Regions from separate parts of the Homo sapiens genome. Here region 1 is linked to region 2. The links are contacts of gene promoters, found by promoter capture Hi-C in blood cells and fetal thymus (Javierre and others, 2016). All regions are on one chromosome and are shown on one strand. The core of a region is centred on a gene start or on the middle of the fragment in contact, and the rest is flanking DNA. Distances in the headings are between cores, read along the strand shown. Region 1 overlaps BCL2L13 (BCL2 like 13). Region 2 holds the start of TOM1 (target of myb1 membrane trafficking protein).

Region 1 (4,725 bases), core at 817-3,316, about 18 Mb before region 2:
ATTGATCAAAATTCTTACATTGTTGAGTATGACAGAGATTACCTTAGCCTGGAAAAAAATTGAAGGCAAGTCCATTAGAGGCAAGCCACCCTTGGAAACAGGTTGCAGAACATCTGGTATTCAGGAATACAGCTTTTTAGTAAAACTTCCCCAATCAATTTGTTGTGCAATGTCCAACAAATTTAAGCAACACATATTAAGCCATTCTCTCTAGCAGCAATTGAAGAGCAAGAATAACTGCCTGTCAAGATTTCTCCTAGTTTGTGTTAAAACAGCCTTATTTTATATTACATGGCATTATCTAAACTGACAGAGGTTGTCCTGCTATTCCTACCTTTCACAGTGTGGAAAGCAGGTTCTGTATAAGCATCTTTGATTAAAAATCTGTGATGAGCTAATTTCTGTTCACAGAGATAAGGGGCCAGGAAAGATAATTATCTAATAATACAATTTTAGAGCATGAAAAGAATTGGTGAGTGGGAGCACCTGTCGATTGGGCATTTATCTCATTACTCTTCACAACTACCCTTTGTGGTGGGTATTATTTTCCCATTTTATATAAGAGGAGAGACGGTGGCTCACGCCTGTAATCCCAGCACTTCGGGAGGCTGAGGCAGGCGGATCACTTCAGGTCAGGAGTTCGAGACCAGCCTGGCCAACATGGCAGAACCCTATCTCTACTAAAAACAAAAAAAAATAGGCAGGTGTGGTGGCACACGCCTGTACTCCCAGCTACTTGGGAGGCTGAGGTGGGAGAATTGCTTGAACCCAGGAGGTGGAGGTTGCAGTGAGCCGAGACTGCACCACTGCACTCCAGCCTGGGTGACAGAGCGAGACTCTGTCTCAATTAAAAAAATAATCATAAAGAGGAGAGGGTCAAGAAGATTATTTTCCTTGCCCAAGTGAAGAGTTAGAAGGCCTGACTCCAAAGCTTATCAACCACTTTACGGCTGTTTTCCAGGAAGCTGGAAGGGAAAGAGAGAATTTTATTGCAAGAAATAGCATGGGCCGTGAATTAATTTCTGAGCTTGTGTTTGATTTCACTTAATAATGTCATGATGTATTCTGGAGATCACTGTATCTTGTGCAGTTATATTAATCAGTGCTGTTGCAGAGCCATCTAACACTACAAATTACTTCTAAAGGGAAAACCTGTTATAATTATAAACAGTAATGGAGATTTAGTAGAAGCTTATCTGTAAAGGTAGACTTTTATGCTTTATGAGAATTTATAAAGATTAGGATAAATTGGCATAGGATCTTTCTAGGATAAATTGGCCTCAAATTTTTGCATAATAGATTGTTTTATGTAACATTTTCAAGTTTTTATGAATGTAGTTTATCAAAGTTATTTACTTAGGCAGAAGTAAGTGAAATGTCATTAAGCAAAGTATATGCTATTGGTGACATTGAGGAGATCCTTTGTGTTACATTTCAACTTTTAAGGATTCTGGCACTTAGGGAGGCAGAGGCAGGAGGATGGCTTGAGCCCAGGAGTTTGAGACCTGCCTAGGCAATATAGTGAGACCCTATTCTCAAAAAATAAAAAAATAAAAAAATAAAAGGATTTGAATTTTATTTTGGTTAGTCTCATCTCATAAGGAAAGTGTTTTATGTCGCTTAAAGCCATGTTATTTTTGTCAGCTTTAAAAGTAGAAAATGAATCAGAATCTGTGATACGTAAAAATGTTTAACCTTTTGTTTTTTAAAGGTATTTTAAATACCTGTGGATGATAGAATAATCAAGTTTCTTGACCTTAATAGAATTAATTAATTCAAAGCCCATCTGAGAATTTGGGATTCTTTAATTTGGTTGCAAAAAATGAAAACATAGGCAGAGCCTGGTGGCTCATGCCTGTAATCCCAGCGTGAGGGAGGCCAAGGTGGGCGGCCTGCTTGAGCCCAGGAATTTGAGACCAGCCTGGCCAACAAGGCAAAACTTTGTCTCTACCAAAAAAAAGAAAAACCCCACACAGCTGGGCGCGGTGGCTCACACCTGTAATCCCAGCACTTTGGGAGTCTGAGGCAGGTGGATCATGAGGTCAGGAGATCGAGACCATCCTGGCCAACATGGTGAAACCCTGTCTCTACCAAAAATACAAAAATTAGCTGGGTGTGGTGGTGTGCACCTGTAGTTCTAGCTACTCAGGAGGCTGAGGCAGGAGAATCACTTGAACCCAGGAGGCAGAGGTTGCAGTGAGGCGAGATCGCGCCATTGCATGATCTGGCGACAGAGCGAGACTCTGTCTCAAAAAAAAAACAAAAAAACCCCACAAAAATTAGCTGGGCATGGTGGTGTGTACCTGTAGTGCCAGCTACTTGAGAGGCTGAGGTGGGAAGATCGCTTGAGCCTAAGAGGTTGAGGCTCTTGTGAGCCATGATAGTGCCACTGCACTCCAGCCTGGGCAACAGGGTGAGACCCTGTCTAGAAACATAAAATATATAGAAGTGCTGAAGTGCAGTGGTGCAGTCATGGCTCACAGCAGCCTCGACCTCCCAGGCTCAAGTGATCTTCACACATCAGGCTCCCGAGTATCTTGGACGATGGGAACATGCCACTGTGCTCAGCTAGTTTTTTTTATTTTTCGTAGAAACAAGGTCTAGCTATGTTGCGCAGGCTGTTCTTGAACTCCTAAACTTAAACAATCCTTCTGCCTCGGCCTCCCAAAGTGCTGAGATTACAGGCATGAGCACCACACCCAACTGAAGTGAAGATTAAATAAGGGGACATGAAAGTCCCTGTCAGAAGACAGTATCACCGATATAGACAGCCTTTCTGCTCTCTGTTAACTATTTAATCATGTCAGAAATGTTTCTGAGATCTTTCATTCCTAGCCACCCAACCAGAAGATGACGAGAGCACAGCCTGGATTAACGATTTTGTAGTCAGACTCACCAGAGTTCCAATTATAACTTCTTTATGGTAGTGGTAGAACCTATCCAAGCTTCAGTTTCCTCATCTTCAAATGGAACTATTATTTCATCCCTCATAAGGTTGACTTGGAAATTAAATGAAATAACACATAGGAAATGTTTACTACCGTGCCTGTTAAGTAACAGGTACTTTGTAAATGCTTGCTGTTGTCCTGCCCTTCCTGAACTTCCCCAGTCTATATAAATAGTTTCATGTGCTGGACAAATCTTACTCATTTTTGTGCTGCGTAGATGCTTCAGGACATACCTGATAAATAGCAGGTAGTCAATGTTTCTTCAGTGGATAAATGAATAGTAGGTAGACCTGCAACTTAGTGGCCCAGTTCATGCTGCTTTTTGTTAGCTTGTTTGGTTTTTCTGCTGAAATTCTTGCATGGTGGAGTATAGTTGATTGCAGGGCCCTTCCCCCACACCCAGGTAGGGGCTTCATTGTCCCCACAAGTTACTTATCTCAAGTCTTTAGGGAAATGAAAAACCACTCTCCTCTAACAGAAGGTTAGTTGCTAAGTATACAATTCAGCATCCTCTGGGTGTTCAGGTAAGTCTGAATTTAAGTTCCAGAAATGAGTGAGATTCCTAGGATGACTCTGAATTATCTTGACTTCCCTGAATGCTTCTGGCTAAAAACCAAGCTGGGATTATTGATGTGATTGTGAATCTGGCCCATGTCCTGGGAATGTGGATTCTGCTGCATATGTCAATTGGTTTGGCTCTTTTTTTTTTTTTTTTTTTTTTTTGAGACAGTTTCACCCTTGTGGCCCAGGCTGGAGTGCAATGGTGCGATCTCTGCTCACCACAGCCTCCAACTCCTGGGTTCAAGTGATTCTCCCACCTCAGCCTACCGAGTAGCTGTGATTACAGGCGCCTGCCACCATGCCTAGCAAATTTTTGTATTTTTAGTAGAGACGGGATTTCACCATGTTGGCCAGGCTGGTCTTGAACTCCTGACCTCAGGTGATCCGCCCGCCTTGGCCTCCTGAAGTGCTGGGATTACAGGCGTGAGCCACTGTGCCTGGCTGGTTTGGCTCTTTTTATCCTAAATTTTTTGTTTAAATGTTCTGTAGTACTGAAATCACCTGAAAGTAGAAGAAAAAAAAATTATTCAAGAAAGAATATTTTTGCAATGTAGGGAGAGCTTGAGCTTTTTATATAAGCTTTTAAAGCTTTAAAAGGAACTGTGCTGTTTTACCCCCAAATTTGCCCACTTTGAATTCAGGAGAAACGTTTTGGTCTCCTTTATGTTCTAGTCTCTGGATACAAATGTTTTCTTTGTTCGTTTTTTCCCCTTATTACCAACCACAGGTTCTTAGGCTCCTGTGTAATAGAAATTGACACAAGGCCAAGCAAGTTTCCCAGACAAGGCTATATTAAGACTTATGGGCCAGGCACGGTGGCTCACGCCTGTAATCCCAGCACTTTGGGAGGCTGGGGCGGGCGGATTACCTGAGGTCAGGAGTTCGAGATCAGCCTGGCCAACATGATGAAGCACCATCTCTACTAAAAATACAAAAAATTAGCCGGGCGTGTTGGCAGGCACTTGTAATTCCAGCTACTCGGGAGGGTGAGGCAGGAGAATTGCTTGAACCCCGGGGGGCGGAGGTTGCAGTCAGCCGAGATTGTGCTATTGCACTCCAGCCTGGGCAGCAAGGGCGTAACTCTCTCTCAAAAAAAAAAAAAAGCTGGGCACGGTGGCTCACGCCTGTAATCCCAACACTTTGGGAGGCCGAGGTGGGCGCATCACGAGGTCAGGAGATCAAGACCATCCTGGCTAACACGGTGAAACCCCATCTC
Region 2 (5,293 bases), core at 1,551-4,050:
ATACTGGCCAGGTGCAGTGGCTCGTGTCTGTAATCCCAGCACTTTGGGAGACTAAGTCAGGAGGATCATTTGTGGCCAGGTGTTTGAGACCAGCCTGGAGAATATAGCAAAACCCCATCTCTACAAAAACTAAAAGATATTAGCCAGGTATGGTGGCATGCATCTGCAGTCCCACCTACTCAAGAGGCTGAAGTGGGAAGACACTTGAGCCCAGGAGATCAGGGCTACGGTGAGCTACAGTTGTACCACTGTACGCCAGCCTGGGTGACAGAGACTCTGTCTTTAAAAATAAATAAATAAATAAATCCATATACTTCCATTTCTGTTTCAATAGCTATATAGTAATCAGTTTGCATGGAGTTGTTTTTCTTTTTTTTTTTGAGACGGAGTCTCGCTCTGTCTCCCAGGCTGGAGTGCAGTGGTGCAATCTCTGCTCACTGCAAGCTCCGCCTACCAGGTTCACGCCATTCTCCTGCCTCAGCCTCCCGAGTAGCTGGGACTACAGGCGCCCACCACGGCGCCCACCACCACGCCCAGCTAATTTTTTCTATTTTTTTAGTAGAGATGGGGTTTCACCGTGTTAGCCAGGATGGTCTTGATCTCCTGACTTCGTGATCTGCCTGCCTGGGTCTCCCAAAGTGCTGTGATTACAGGTGTGAGCCACCGTGCCCAGCCTGCATGGAGTTTATGATTCCACTTCCTGTTTGGGGGCATATGAGTTGTCTCTGTTTTTGTTTTTTTTTGTTTTTTTTTTTTTTTTTTTTTACCATGAATAAAGTTTACAAGAACTTGTTAAAAGCTTAAAGGAAGGGCCAGAGATGGTGGCTCATGCCTGTAACCCAGGGCTTTGGGAGGCTGAGGTGGGAGGATCACTTGAGCTCAGAAGTTCAAGGACCAGCCTGGGCAACATAGTGAGACTTTGCCTCTAAAAATAAATAAATAAAGGTTAATGGAAGAATCCAAAAGAAGTTCATGCTAAACATAACTCCATATGACCAAGCAATAAGGTTAAGTGAAGAAAGACATGGAAAGTGCCTTGACCTGAAGGTCATCTTAAATGGCCTTCTCCCCGCTTATACTCCAAATACCATTACTGAAACGTAGATCTATTTAAGCTTTCATGTGCTAGTTACTGGGTTAGACAATAGTGGGGAGCAAAACAGAAATAGTAGCCCAGCCCCCAGGGACATCCAGACTCGTGGGGGCAAAGGCATTTGTGAACAGGTCTCATGAGTGTTGTGGAAACACTTCAAAGCAGTTTTTATATTGTACAGTAAAGACATCGGACCCCATGGCTGCTCAAACAAGTGAATCTACAGAGGTGATTAAGTTCTAATTTAGGTTTGTTTTTTTTTTTAAGACACAGCCTTACTCTGTCACCCAGGCTGGAGTGCAGTGGCACGATCTCAGCTCACTGCAATCTCTGCCCCCCTGGGTCCAAGCAATTCTCATGCCTCAGCCTCCCAAGTAGCTGGGACTACAGGCGTGTACCACCACACCTGGCTAATTTTTGTATTTTTAGTAGAGACGGCATTTTACCATGTTGGCTAGGCTTGTTTTGAATGCCTGACCTCAGGTGATCCACCTGCCTCAGCCTCCCAAAATGTTGGGATTACAGGCGTGAGCCACCACACCTTGCTTAATTTAGGTTTTCTGTCATCCAAAATTTGTGCAGTCAATTTACTAGCCTTTCAGATTTAAAAACCACAAACATCACAATAAGTACTTAAGCACCCACAGTAGCCAGACTACTAAGGCCATGGTTATTGTATTTTTGGAGTACATGCCAGAAGAAAAGGTCATAACCCATAGATAGGTATCTAGTGTGTAGGTGTCAGCAGACACACCACACACAGCCAGGAAGGCTGAAGAGATTAGAATCACAACGCTGGGAAAGGCCTTTGAGATTCTTAGCTTGGGGTCCACGGTTGTACTTCAGGGACCCCAGAAACTCCCTGAGGTTATAAGCAAAATTGTATCGCTGCCTTTTTTCTTCAGAAAGGCTCATGGCTTTTGTCAAATTCTCAAAGGAGACTGTGACCTAAATAAAATATTTTTTAAAAATGGTTACGAGTCCTTGATCTAATTCCAGTATCTAGAGAAAATGGGAGCTATGTTTGGCTCACACAGTAAATTTATGGCAGAGACGGGTATTAAAGCCCCACTCGTGACTACATCTGTGCTTTTTGCCATCCTGGGCGCTAGAGGGAATTGCGCTGCAATTCATTAAATTGCCTCTCAGTCTCAACAGATGACAAACCCCTTGCCCTTGCCTCTGATTTAAGGTAAGATAATTTGGGCTGCGAGCAGGGTGCATCTTGGAGCGGGGAGACCTTGACATCAAACAGGAAGAGTCTTACCGGGACAAGGAGACAACAGCCCAGAGAGGCTGTCACCCAGGGTAGGTGTGCAGTCACAGTGAGGTCCCAAGGACTAAGGGCTATGACCCTAAGAGTCTCGGCTTCTGTGTAACTCACCCAAGTCACTTCCCTGGTCTACGACCCAGTTTCCCAAATGTGTAAAGGGTCCTTTAGACCTCGCCCTAAAAGGTCAGGGGCGTGGCTTAAAGAGGACCGCGCTTCCCGGGCCCCGACCCCAGACCCTACATCGTGTGTGACGCCCGCCGCCGCCGAGCAAGCCGCAGTGAGGTCATCGCCCTCCGCCTCGGGGGCGGGACCCTGGCGTCTCAGGGCGGGGCTTGTGGTCGAGCTTCGCGGTGCCACCGCCCCGCCCACGCCTCCTCGCCGGCCTCCGAGTGCGTCACGTGACGGGTCGGTGGCGCTGGCGGTTGCTGTCAGCTGATTCCCGGGGTTGGTGGCAGCGGCGGTAGCAGCAATGGACTTTCTCCTGGGGAACCCGTTCAGCTCTCCAGTGGGACAGCGCATCGGTGAGTCCCTGGAGCCCCCCACAGCTCCGCCCCGGTGCTCCGCACCCAGCTTCGGTCCCCTGGGAAGCCTCCGGGTGCCTAGTCACGGAGGCAGGGAGGGCAAGGAGGCTGGCGTGTAGCTCTCCGACCTGGCTCCGCCCAGCTTTCCTCCCACTCTTGATTGACAAGAACTTGGGCCATTAGGAAGCCTTGGCTTGTGATAGATGTATATGACAGCCAGTAGGTAAGGAGAGAGGGTGGGTCCGGATGCCCACGGCGCAGCCAATGTGCGTCTGCTGGGGTCCCCAATCGAGGGAGAAAGTTTTCGTGGTTAAAGGGACTGCGTGGTTGGCAGTGGCTGGGCCACTCTGCTGGGTCCCGCCGCCTGGGCTCTGGCCAGCTCCTTCCTGGCTCACCGGGCCCTCCGGACACAGACACCTGAGAAGGGCTAGAAGTCCCTTCTCCCAGGACCGCGAAGCCCCGGGCTTGGCGTCTTGGGGCCAACTGGCCAGAGGGGCCCAGCGCCGGACAGCCCGCGGCCAGGCCTCACAGACCCGGGTCTCAGGACGTGTCCGCCTGGGCTCTTTTCTCGACCCAACCTCAAATGGACCCGCACAGACTCTCAGAACCTGAGCAGACAGTGGTCGGACAAACCCTCCTGGTCAGCCCATCTCGGTGCTCCGTAGGTGGGGCAGCCGGGAACTCGGGCCAAGCCAAGCCCAGGGCACCTGGCGCCTGTCTGCTGGTCCGTGGTTCTCTGCACCCTGGTGACAGGATACTCACAGTTCTGTGACGCAGCCTCCCTGGGCCGAGGTTTCCTCACCTGTAGTTGGCGGGCAATAATGGTCCCCACCTCCGTGGGCTTGTTGTGAAGATTAAATTCCTTAATAAATGTGAAATACTTAGAACAATGCCTGGTACATGGCCAGTGCCATATAAAAAAAAACAGTTGTAATATTTATTATCACTGGGCTGGGCACGGTGGCTCCCGCCTGTAATCCCAGCACTTTGGGAGGCCAAGGCGGGCAGATCGCTTGAGCCCAGGAGTTCGAGACCAGCCTGGGCAACATGGCGAGACCCCGTCTCTACAAAAAAAAAAAAAAAAAAAAATACAGAAATTAGCCGGGCGTGGTGGTGCGTGCCTGTGCACCCAGCCACTCGGTAGGCAGAGCTGGGAGGATTTATTGGATCTGGGAGGTCAGGGCTGCAGTGAGCCCTGATGGCGCCACTGTACTCCAGCCTGGACGACGCAGGGAGAGCCCATCTCTTGAAACACATACACATACACACACACACACGCACACATATATATAAAAATATACACATACAAACATACATATACATACACATACATATATATTATATGTATTTACACACACACGTTGTTCCTGAGATCACCAAGTGAAGGTTAGGAATCCCTGGAAATCGCTTGGCAGTAGATCTCATAGGTGCTCATTCTTGGGCACCAACACCATGAGAACCGACATGCCTTCACCCAAACAGCCACACTTCTCCGGAGGATGGTTTGGGTGTTCCGCATTCTTGCATGAAGAAACCATCGCATTACCGTGAAATTACTCTTCATCTTTTTTGATGACGACTTTTCGTCTTAAGTCCAGACTGGGAAAACTTTAAGATGAGACATATTTTCCATTCTTAGTGTCTTGCGAAACCTCACGAAAGCTTGTCGACCCGGCTCTGTGTTGTAATCGCCACCGTGGCTGTCGGTGGCTCTTCCGAGGTTTTGTAATCAATGCTCTCCAAGGGGGAGGTGGCAGTCCAGGATTTACACACCAGGAAGCTCCTGAACCAGGGAGAGGAACTGCCCTCTCAAAGGACCCCTGCCCTCCCCGGACACACACCCACCCCACAGTGAGTCATGGTTTTTTGGAGCTGAAAAGAGAAGGCAGCTCTCCTCTCATCTATATTTCTCTGACTACAGAAACCACTGCTTTTATCACATGCCAAGTTTAAGACTTACTACTTAAAAATAAACAAGTAAATAAAAGACCTGGCTTCAAAGTCAGCCACATACTCTTAAGGCTTTCTGGAAAAGCTCACCTGGGTTCTGGATTTCAGCTAATCAAAGCAAACTTCTCTTCTTACCTTGAAGCGTTGCCTTTCTTGGGCAAGAAATACTTCTGTGCAAAGAGAATGCTACTAAATCATAATACCTTAAAGCACAAATGGAATTTTGCAGGTAAAAGAGCCTTACCTTGGGGATCTTCTAACCCAGTGGTTCTCATCAGAATTCCTAGGAGGGCTTGTTAAATAATGTCGGGGCCCCAACCCCAGAGTTTCTGACTCTCCAGGTCTGCGGTGGGACTCTAGAATGTGAATTTCTTTTTTTTTCTTTTTCTTTTTCTTTTTCTTTTTTTTTTTTTTTTTTTTTTGAGACTGCGTTTCGCTCTTGTTGCCCAGGCTGGG

Evidence for each region. Contacts are between HindIII fragments. The CHiCAGO score rates a contact against its expected background, and 5 or more counts as called.
Region 1: a contact is called between a fragment that was not itself captured here and the fragment with the promoter of TOM1 in region 2, in 1 of 17 cell types (M0 macrophages). The highest score is 5.7, in M0 macrophages.

Annotation. Positions count from the first base shown.
Region 1 is chr22:17,675,618-17,680,342 of GRCh38, forward strand. All of the region lies in intron 2 of BCL2L13 (BCL2 like 13), which reads left to right. Among named protein-coding and RNA genes, the nearest start is that of BCL2L13, 39 kb to the left of the region's middle. The HindIII fragment of the contact is 1,754 bases long and covers 1,190-2,943 here.
Region 2 is chr22:35,297,094-35,302,386 of GRCh38, forward strand. TOM1 (target of myb1 membrane trafficking protein) reads left to right here and starts at 2,801. Exons shown (of 15, transcript NM_005488.3): 1 at 2,801-2,887. The coding sequence starts at 2,836. RefSeq lists enhancers at 2,376-2,898, 2,825-2,974, 2,899-3,421, 3,375-3,534, 3,945-4,466. The HindIII fragment of the contact is 3,434 bases long and covers 1,114-4,547 here.